Linked DNA regions of Homo sapiens: region 1 is linked to region 2. Evidence: promoter capture Hi-C in human tissues and cell types (Jung and others, 2019). All regions are on one chromosome and are shown on one strand. The core of a region is centred on a gene start or on the middle of the fragment in contact, and the rest is flanking DNA. Distances in the headings are between cores, read along the strand shown.

Region 1 (5,528 bases), core at 2,210-4,709, 150 kb before region 2:
TTTGGGTTTGAGAGACTGGTTCACTCAGGTCGAGGAGATCTAAGCCAGTGGTCAATACTACCAGAAATGGAAGAGGTTAAGATAAGCCCATTTACTACTCTGAAATTATTTAAAATAGGTTTCAGTTGGGTACAGAAAGATTTTATGTTTGTAGGATAGGTTAGAATAAAATTACGTTAGCTCATCATTGATTTATAGAGACAGCTTGTTAGACTGGGATGTTTGCTGCATGTTATTCTTATAGTTGGTATGGCACAAATTGGTAAGAAAGGACTTAGACCAGCCTCAGCAATGATGAAGCTTTGAATGAAATTAAAATGATCAAACTGAATCTGAGTTCAGGTGCTATTTACTTTATTGCTTTGCTTTATTTATACTGAAGGTTATTTTAGATTGCAATTTCCCAGAGAGGAGTCAATCTACCATATTCAGAGATTTAGTGAAGGTTTTGAATGTCTTTGTGTTTTAATTTTAAACAATAAAGTATATGGGGTATAAAGCAATGCTGTTAATCATCTTTTATTTAATTAAGCAGTTCAATCAGAAAATGGCATCCTGTTTGGGTTCACCCAAGAGAGGTATTTTATAATCCATAGTTGATGAATAGGTACACATGTTAATGCCTTTGCTGTTTAGTATGCAAATTTGAATTTCAATGTAACTAACTATAAAACTGTTACACTTTTACTTCCTAGCAGGTTGATTACATTGCATTAAATACTCTAATGAAAGCAGAAATAATAACTTGTTCAAATGCAAATAAGGCAAATGAGAATTAAAAAAGCAAGTTTTATAACCTTAGCTTCTTCCTTCTTTTACAGTGCACGTAACCAGTGTTTGACTAGCTCATTGTGAGAGATAGAAAATTCAAATTGGAGAAGGTCCCTACAGCTCTACCTTTCCACCAGTCCCTGCTGTTTCACTGGCCCTGGCACTGCACTGGAGAGACTAGCTTCTGAGCAAGATCGGTGGCTCCCTGGCCTGGAATCTCTTCACCCAGCTCACGTAGGAAAGCCACAGAAAGACAAAGAAACCACTTGCATTAACCCTTTGTGGCAGTCTACAACAATGACTGCAGCACTCCTCTTTAATCTCCAAGCTTTTCCTCTAGGTGGGGGATGGATTTTTGCTGATGTCTCAATACTCTTCTGTCTGCTTCTCCCTTGTACTCAAGGCAGGGGCCGGGCTCCATTGAACTCACAACCTGGATTTCTTTAGTAGTGCATGGGCTTCATGAGTTAACCATTCCTATGGGATCTTTAGGATGGTGTGTCAAACTTTACTCTTAATAATCTTGCTTTCTGATTCCAATTCCAAGTCACAGTGGTTGGATGTTGTTGGTGAAGTGGAAACATCTGGCTCTGTCACGGCTTAGTGTGTGACTTGAAGTAAGTTTCTTGATCTCTCTGAGTTTCAGTTTCCTCATTTGAAAATGGGGAATTAATTGTCTTTTAGGGATAAGATGAGGATTAAATGATCTAATGTATGTAAAGTGCCAGGCATACAATAGGTACTCAATAAATGTGATTTCCATTCTTTTACAGCCAATTTGTGATTTTTTCTATCCTTTTTGTTGTTGTTGTTGATGTTCTCCTATTTTCACTGCTCCTTTTTATTTGAGACAAGAATCAGATCCATACACTGACAGAAAGAGAAAATGCTACTGGGAATAAAACTGAAGATGAGACAAAGATATTGGTTCTACAGAGGATCCTATGAAGTAAATTTATCATAAAGTGGCCTGAAAGTGTCAGCTTATCTCAACAGAATCTTCCTGAGGCAATAGGAACCACTTCCCAATGCTAAGATGCCCTGAGATACGAGGGATGTTTTGGGGCTAGGAAGTACTTGAACGTGGAGGGAAAGAAGTGACATTCAGAACTAAGCTGCCTGGCTTTATGTCTAAAATGTAAGCATGGCAGACAGCCAAAATAGGCTAGAATGCCTCACATTTTATATCCACTGAATGGTCAAATAGAAATTTCCAGACCACTATTATGTTGGCAAGGAGTCTAGGCCCAATGTGATGTCCTTATAATGGAGGAAAGGAAATTGATGGCATAATATAGAATGCCATATACATCTTTTTACTAATTGTACAAACAATTAAGAGTTAGTCACTTGCTCCTAGACTTTTAGAAGCAAATTATAAAATTGTCTACTTGAACATAGGAAGTACATTTGTTATGGAATAACAGCTGGCAAGTACTAATTTAATTCTATATCTTCTTCTCACATTCAGAATAAATGAATTACTAAAAGGGTGAACTGTGAATTCAAACTTGGCTCAGTAAGGTTCTTTCCCCCTCCAAAGTGTCCTGGGCAATTCCTGTATTTGTTCTGAGCTCTTTGTCCCTTTGTTCTTTTTCTTGCAAATGTGAAACAAATGCTTGGCACACACAGAAAGCCTAATTGGTTACCCAGCTGATGAAGGAGGTGGCTTGGAGGTCGAATGGCCAGCTTTGAAGCTGGGAAAGTCCCTGCAGAGTACGTTTTCAAAAGGAGAGAAGGGTGGGTGTAGCCTTTCACTCTCTGGAGAAAGACAAATCACATTTTAGCATGTGTGTGTCCTTTAGCTAAGATTTAAAAGTAAGAATCTTATTGCTCCACACAAAGACAGCCCTGGTATGGTAGGTGGTGTCTGCTCTGCTGATTTCTTAAATCCTATTTTAAAGATCCTTCAGGCACATGAAGTTTTGGGTTTCAGTATCTGTGTGCTTAAATTAAGAGCACCAACCGGTGAGGTGTGTTGGCTCATGTTTGTAATCCCAGTGCTTTGGGAGGCCAAGGCAGGAGGATCGCTCGAAGCCAGGAGTTTGAGACCAGCCTAGGCAATATAACAAGATTCAGTCACTACAAAACAATTAAAAAAATTAAAAAAAATTAGCCAGGAGTGATGGCTATCACCTGTAGTCTCAGCTACTCGGGAGACTAGGTGGGAGGACTGCTTTAGCCCAGAAGTTTGAGCCAGCCTGGGTGACAGAGTAAGACCCTGTCTCTAAAAAAAAGGAGCACAAAGGAACAAAGGATAATCTCCTCTTACAATGAACGTGAAAAGTGTGTGCGTGTGTGTATGCACATGTGTGTGTATGCGTGTGATAGTGTAGATCTAATAAAATACCTTCAGGGTGTAATCTTATTGTCACATATGCAGACTTTTCTCATGGACCACATGTCAGTCACCACTCACAGCTTCATAGGCTGTGGGATCCCACTGCCCAGAGGATGTCGCTGACTTCACTTCTATTTGCTGTAGCAGGGGGATTTCCAGCTCAGTTGCTTCTGAGCAGGCTATGTTTTGCCAGTCACCCTTGTAGCACTTTGTCCTGTCTTCTTCACTTTAGTTCAGCTAATCTATTTTGGTGTCCTGATGTTCCGTGAATATTGTGCATAAAATAAGGCAGCACAGGACAGTGGTTAAGACTGTCTGAGTTTGACTGAGTGCAGTGGCTCATGCCTGTAATCCCAGCACTTTGGGAGGCTGAGGCAGGCGGATCACCTGAGGTCGGGAGTTCAAGGCCAGCCTGACCAAAATGGAGAAACCCCGTCTCTACTAAAAATACAAAATTAGCCGGGCGTGGTGGCACATGCCTGTAATCTCAGCTACTCTGGAGGCTGAGGCAGGAGAAATTGCTTGACCCTGGGAGGCGGAGGTTGCGGTGAGCCAAGATCATGCCATTGCACTCCAGCTTGGGCAACAAGAGCAAAACTCCGTCTCAAAAAAAAATGTCTCTCTGAACCTTAACTCTGCCCACTAAAATAAGGATAAAACTATAAAGTATTGGATGAAGTGCTTATCTACAGCTCTTGGAACAGCACTATAAGCATAGTCATGATGCAAATAAATATTTATCGCTACTAGAAGATTCTACTGAAAGCATTCATGCTTGACACAAACTGTAGATATATGAGGTTGGAAATGATTACAAAAACTATTTATTGAAAATATACAATATGGTAAGTGCTTATGAGTGTTTCCTTACTTAGTCTACATAACATTTCTGTGAAAAAGGTATTCTAATTTTACATATGAGAAACTTGAGGCTTGGCAATATTAAGTAACTTGTCCAAAATCACACAGCTGGTGTGGTAGAAAAACGCCCCCCTCTAATATGGCCACATTCTAATCCCCAGAACCTGTAAATATGTTACCTTGACATGTCACATGGCAAAAGGGACTTTGCAGATGTAATTAAGGATTTGGAGACTGAAAGATTAATCTGGATGATCCCTGTGGGCCCAATGTAATCACAAGAGCTCTTATAAAGTGCAGTTAGGGGGGTCAGAGCCAGAGAAGGACATGGAGACCAATGTGAGAGAGAGAGCTGCTGCTTTTGAAGATGGAGCAAGGAGTCATAAGCCACCAAATTGTAGGTGCCCTCTAGAAGCTGGAAAAAGCAAGGAAGTGAATTCTGTCCTGGAGCCTCCAGAAGTAATGTAGTTCTATTGACATCTTGATTTTAGGATAATAAATTTGTGTTGTTTTAAGCCATTAGATTTGTGGTAATTGTTACGGTGACAATAGAAAACTAATATAACTGGTATGTCAGTGTTTACACCAGGATTCAAATACAGGATACAGGTCTCATCTCTCCATAGCCTGTGTTCTTGCACAGTCCTCTCTAGACTTTATCTAAACCTTAAGGCAGGGTGCTGACTTTATTGATAAGGCTTTGATTCATTTGTTTGTTTAGCTTCTAATTATTTGGCAGTTTGGATAGTCCAAGGAATGATTTAAATAGTTGGCAGTCTCAAAAACTTTTGTTCTTCAGATAATCTAATAGAACTGGGTGGAAAAAAATTATAATTTAGAACTTCTATGAGGCAAAAGATACGTTCTTTTAGGGTTCATAGAGAAAAAAAATCACTGACCGACCTCCAGAAGAGGTAAATATTTCCTAAATTTTTTTTATTTTGTATTGATTTATATAAAAACTAGATTTCTTACGAATTAAAAATATATAATATTTTTGCCTTGAGATATACGCTTAATATTAAAAACACTTATCAAATAAGAGTCTTTCTTCAGGATAAAAATCTGTGTGAACCAGGTGCACTGAATAATGGAGGTGGGAAAAAATAAATCCCCAGTCTCAGAACACTATTTTTCCAGACCCCCTACGTTGGAGAGTATTATGGATTGAGTGGTCTATGTAGAAGTCCTAACACTGAGTACTCAGAATATTACCTTATTTGGAAACAGTTTCATTCGAGATATAATTAAACATGAGGTCATATTAGAATAGGGTGGGCCCCTACTTTAATAGGACTGGTGTCCTTATAAAAAGGGGAAATTTGGGCCAGGCGCGGTGGTTCACGCCTGTAATTCCAGCACCTTGGGAGGCCAAAGTGGGCAGATCACAAGGTCAGGAGATTGAGACCATCCTGGCTAACACAGTGAAACCCTGTCTCTACTAAAGATACAAAAAATCAGCCAGTCGTGGTGGCAGGTGCCTATAGTCCCAGCTACTTGGGAGGCTGATGCAAGAAAATCGCTTGAACCCAGGAGGCGGAGGTTGCAGTGAGCC
Region 2 (5,411 bases), core at 1,435-3,934:
TTAAGGTATCAGTCAAGTAACATTATGTTTCAAATTAACTCCAAAGCTGGCAGAAATGTTAGTAAATCTGCTTATCCCTGGTCCACTTTACCAAATATGGATTCAGATTTTAATCATACACATTTTGGAGTGTTTGGAATGTGTTTCTTCTTATCTGTGATTAGAGTCAGGTACACACAGGAAGATGATAGTATCTCTGATAAGGAAACGTTATTTTGTCCATAGGCTAAATAATATTCTTTGGGGGAAGAGATATGAGTTTAAAATGTAAGCCAACAAGTATATTATGAATCAATCTGTCATAGGTATTTTTTTGTTGGGGGGAGCAGATGCCCATTCAGATCATCATACTATTGAATAACTACTAAACGTACCTACTAAGGCCTCGGAAGTTTTATGCTTAACATTAATGGTTAATAGTAAGTAGGAAAAAAGTATTATGCTCTGAAATTTTGGTGGATGTATTGATTACAGTCTTTATTTAGTAATGTTTTAATTTAAGCTTGGCAGCAAAGATTTGTGAGTTTTACTGCAAGTCATCATATTTGCTGTTACAGCAGTGCACAAGCAAAAGACATTAAGTTGGGAGAATATGCAGAGTCTTATATTTTGTTTATTCTTTCAAAGTGAAATTAAACCCTCAGACATTGTTCCAGGCAACTCAAGTTTCAATAACATTCTCCTTTGAGATATTGAGAAAATTGAGTTAAAATTGTTTTTGGGTGCATGAATTTACCATATTGTTGCTTCGATTCTTCATTCACAGTAACATATTTTTTAAGCAACAAAACAATACTGTGCAAAGTTTTTGTTAATTTCCCCTTAGTGGTCAATTGTCAATTTTGTGTAAATGAACAATTTTTTGAGGGTTGACTCTATTAAAATCTTCCTGTTTTACCCTTGTGAAGAAACTGTTTAAAAAACAGATAATATATAAAATTGTAAGTATCATTCTTGGGTGAAGATGAAGCATAAAACTATAGTAATAATTCTTTGTTAATTTTTTCAGCAGTCATTATTTGAATTCTTCTATGTTACTTAACTTTTCAATTGGTGTAGCTTTTATAAGAAACATGCAGATCACATTGATCATATATAATATTTAAAAATATACTTCATTCACTACTTTTTGTCTATCAAATGTGATATAATCACATTAATAATTTTCAAAACAGGATGATGTTAGTCATACGGGAAATCTTTTGGAATTCTGGCACTGTATATTGAGAATTCTTATAAAAATTGAGACTATGATGAAATATTGTGTTTTATTTAAAAATGGATTATAGTCCAAAAGAATTTCCCTAAGTTATGGAAATTAAATCTGGGTAGTACTAAGTCATAAATATAACAACATATTTATCTATTTCCAATTGCTCTAAAAGACACAGAAGCAAAATCCTCAGTATTCATAAATGTTATACACCAGGATAAAGGCATCACACATAATGATTGTATTTGACCATCTTTGGAATGGAAAGGAAGCCCAAACATCAAACCTGATGACTAAACCATTTAGGTGCGATAAAGAGTCCAGTTCATACTTTAGAAAGCTGAGTTAGTATTTTATTTTTCTCCCAAAGCATATATCTGCCTTTATAAGAACCAACCAACCGTATGAATGAGAACTGGAGTCAAGGTTAAAGTAATCTTGCCCAAGAGAGTAGAGTGTGTTTGCATCGGAAAGAAGCAGCGGCTCAGCTCAGATGAATATTAATAACAACCGGAGGCAGCACCTCCCCTGAAAAACATTAGAGCTCCTTGGACATGTGTTTGAAATTCATCCTCCCAAGTCATCCTGTGACTATTGGAGTAGATGGCAATGTCCCATAATGTGAAGGGGGAAAATACACTATAAATCGTTTTTTAAATATAACACTTTAAAAAATGAAACGAAAGTGACAGAGTGTTCTAAGTCAAGCAACCTTTTCAGATGGTAAAGGAAAAGCTTTGTCTTTCCTATTATTGTTTGCCCTTCAGTTGACATACATGCTGAGATGCATCAATAGGATTACAACGGAAACACGGTCATCTCTAGGGTTTCCTCTGTTTCGATTCCTTGATCCTGTTTAAAGAAACAGGCTCAGGGAATGCACAGAAAACAAACTTCCCCAATCGAAGTTCTGAGGTCTTCCCTCCCCTTCTCCCACCTTCGGAAACCGGTCTAGTTTTCCCGGCAGCACCGGACAGAAATGTCACGGTCATGTTGCATCACTTCACTTGTTGAGCTGTGCGAAGGCAGCACTTGACCACAGAAACTTGGTGAACCGCCTTGCTCTTAAATTAGCCCCCAAGAATTCTCTCCAGCCCTATAGAAATGTCTTACCTGCATGTGTCCCTGGTACATTCTGCTTCGGTTTCTTCAGGGCTCCCTGAGGCCACCGGATGCTTTTCCCCCGTGCTTACTTGCCCACCAAAAGAGGGGAAAAGGTGGGTGCACAGCGGGTTCTCAGAGGGTGCTCCTGAGCCCCCTGGAGCTCCGGGTACTCGGCCGGCCGGCGGCCACTCGGCAGCGCTGCGGGCTGCCGGGAACTGTTCTCCGCTCGGGGTGCTGAAAGCGGACGCGGGAGAGCGCGCAGAGAAGGCGAGGAGCCGGGTCGGCCAGGCTCTCCTGCAGGCGCGGGTCCTGCTCGCGGGGCGTCTCTAGAACTCACTCCTTCTTCGCCGAACTCTTTCTCGCTTCCTGCCAGGTTGCCTCATGTCTCTCTCTCTCTGAGCTGCGAACCCCCTCCTCCCAGCCCTGACGTGAGCGCCTACACCAGCCGCCGCCGCAGCTGCCGAGCGGGGCGCGCGCCGTTCTCCCAGCCGCGTGCCTGCCGAGAGGCCGCGGGACCGGGCACGCGCGCGCGTTCCCAGGGGCCTGGGAGCGGCCCGAGGGCGGCCCCGGGCGGTGCGCGCTCCCCGAGCGCGTCCTCGGGGCTGCGCGCGCGCGGCGGCAAGGCGAGGTGCCGGCAGGCGGTGGTCGCGCTGGTGTACAACGCCCGCAGCAGCGCGGCGTTCAGGTGCGGCGTCGGCGGGCAGGGCGATTCTAGCGGAGAGGATGGCCGGCCGGAAGAAAGGCGGGAAGACATGCATCGTCTCTCCGGGGGCCATCCACCGCGGCTGAGCCTGTTATCCTACAGACATTATAGGCTGAGTGCAGGGGTTGCCGAAGAGTTTACTTCGGTTCTGATTCAGCTCTCGAAAGTTACGTCCGTATCACCCGTTAAATAAAGACTCCCCGCTCCCCTCATCCCCAGTTCATCGCCGAGCATTCTATTTAAAACGGCAAACCCTAGTCCCTGAGGATCTGGCATGTTTTATTTTTTTCCCTAGCACGTAACATCACCTAACATCCTTTATATTTTCCATATTTATTTTATGTACTGTCTGTCTCTCCCTCTGTACAATGTTATTTCCATGAGATCAGGGACTTTTTTTTAGGGGGGTGGAGTGTTGCACTTGGTTTTGCACGTGTGTGCACAGTAAGGTATTTAGTACTTCCTGACACATGGCAGGCACACAATAAATATTTGCTGAATGAATAGACCTTTACTACTATACACTTACACACACATACACACATATATGAAGAGTGCATTTAAATATGTCTCAAGTTGAGACTGGGTAGTTTGATGTGTCTACACAATAAATGTTCATATATACACACACACCACGGGGTGGTGTATACTGTGATTACCTAATTTTGTTGGTAAAAACATCTCCAATTCTACAGGCCCCTCATATTATGTACAGCATGATATCCCCAAAATATTGCATATAGCATAATATGCTTTTTATAAAGTTTAAAAAATCCCTAGAAATGTCAATGTGTATTCATATATTCATATACAACAATATAAAAAGGAAAGCAGTGGAACAATGAATATAGTGTTCAGAGTGTTGGTGACCCTGGGTGAAGGGAGGCAGGGAAATAGATGGGGAAGCATTTCACTTGAAGTTTAGATGTTAATGTCTTATCTTCTATGCCGGGTAGTGATTCATAGGACACCTAATATCCTATTAAAAATTACTGTGTAACTAAATAAAATAGAACCATGTATGGACTAATGAGGAGAATGTGAAATGAACAAAAGGATGTGAAATGAACCAATTCAATGCATCTGAGGTCCTAAAACAACCAACCAAACAAACACAAAAGGACTAAGACCTGTAAGCAGGAGACATGGATTCCTATTAGATTCCACTAGTAGTTACCCTTGGACAATTTCCTTTTACTACTTTGGACATCAGTTTTTTCATGTCTAAACTCTGTATAAAAAACTTATTTTTTTTACCCTGAAAATAGAGATATGTTCATAAGCACTGTAAACTGTAAAATGTCATCCAGTTCTTATTTTATTGTTCTTTATAGGACAAAGCACAGGACTTGGAGTCAGCAACAAGAGGTGCTAGTTCCATCTCACTACCTCAATGCTCTCTTGGGCAAGTGTACCAACTCTCTATTTCCTCAATTTTGAAATAAGACAAATATCTACCTAGTGTGCTGCACAGAGCTGCTGAGGACTGAATGTATGCAAAGGAAGTTGTAAATTACCAACCATGATATATGAATATGCAAACAGACTTTTTTTTCCCAGTTCAGAAAAGATGAGGACTGATTTTCTGAGACCTCAAGTACTGCAGATTTTAAAATGGTACTAATTATCATATAATACTATCATGTTATATAAAAACTGGGAAAAGTATAGTGCTTTGATTTAAAAGTACTAGAAATCTGTGAAGTAACAATAGGGTCAAAGTTTTCCAATCCATTATATGCTTGTTATTATCTAACGGCAGGTTCAAGGAGCCAACAACCATAAAAGCATTTGGATCAGAATGGCAACTGCCTAGTGTTGAAGCTAGAACTCAATATATTCTCTTCTTAAACCTGAGTCACTGATTTCGTTACTGCCTACATTCTCAAAATCTCAGGAGTGAAAGCTTTCCTTTGTGAAGAATTCCTCTTCACACTTATTCCTTCTGTTAGAAGATAAACTAAGGCACATTAAAATTTTAAAGGGTTTTTTGAGCAAATAGCCATTCATGCATCAGGCAGCAGCAGACCGAAAGCAGTTGGGGACTCTGTCGGAAGTCGTTAAAGGGAAAGATTTTATAGGGTAAATGTGGAAGCAGAGCAAAGAAATTATTTGGTTAAAGAGGAATACTGGATTTATTTGGATCATTCTAATGGAAAGTCCATAGTTAGAGGTTAGTTTGTGGTTTCTGATTGGTTAAGCTTAACTTTCACTTTCCTAGACTATTTCTTAGACTAGGAATGAGATTTGAATTATCTTTATTTTCCTCAGAAACAATGCATGTCTAATAAGCTAGGTCCAGAAAAATATTTTACAAAAGATTTATTTTGTAATTAAATTTGAAGACCCTTGTTACTCAAAACGTGGTGTGTGGACCAGCAACATCAGCAT

The links. Contacts are between HindIII fragments. The study calls those that stand out against the background at their distance.
Region 1: a fragment that was not itself captured here is called in contact with the fragment with the promoter of PEX5L in region 2 in 1 of the 25 tissues and cell types used here (lymphoblastoid cells).

Annotation. Positions count from the first base shown.
Region 1 is chr3:179,880,067-179,885,594 of GRCh38, forward strand. PEX5L (peroxisomal biogenesis factor 5 like) reads right to left here. Exons shown (of 15, transcript NM_016559.3): 5 at 1-57. Among named protein-coding and RNA genes, the nearest start is that of PEX5L-AS2, 15 kb to the right of the region's middle. RefSeq lists an enhancer at 3,143-3,202. The HindIII fragment of the contact is 5,520 bases long and covers 700-5,528 here.
Region 2 is chr3:180,034,253-180,039,663 of GRCh38, forward strand. It overlaps PEX5L (peroxisomal biogenesis factor 5 like), which reads right to left and starts at 2,685. Exons shown (of 15, transcript NM_016559.3): 1 at 2,327-2,685. The coding sequence starts at 2,347. RefSeq lists a silencer at 2,751-2,800. The HindIII fragment of the contact is 6,291 bases long and covers 1,226-5,411 here.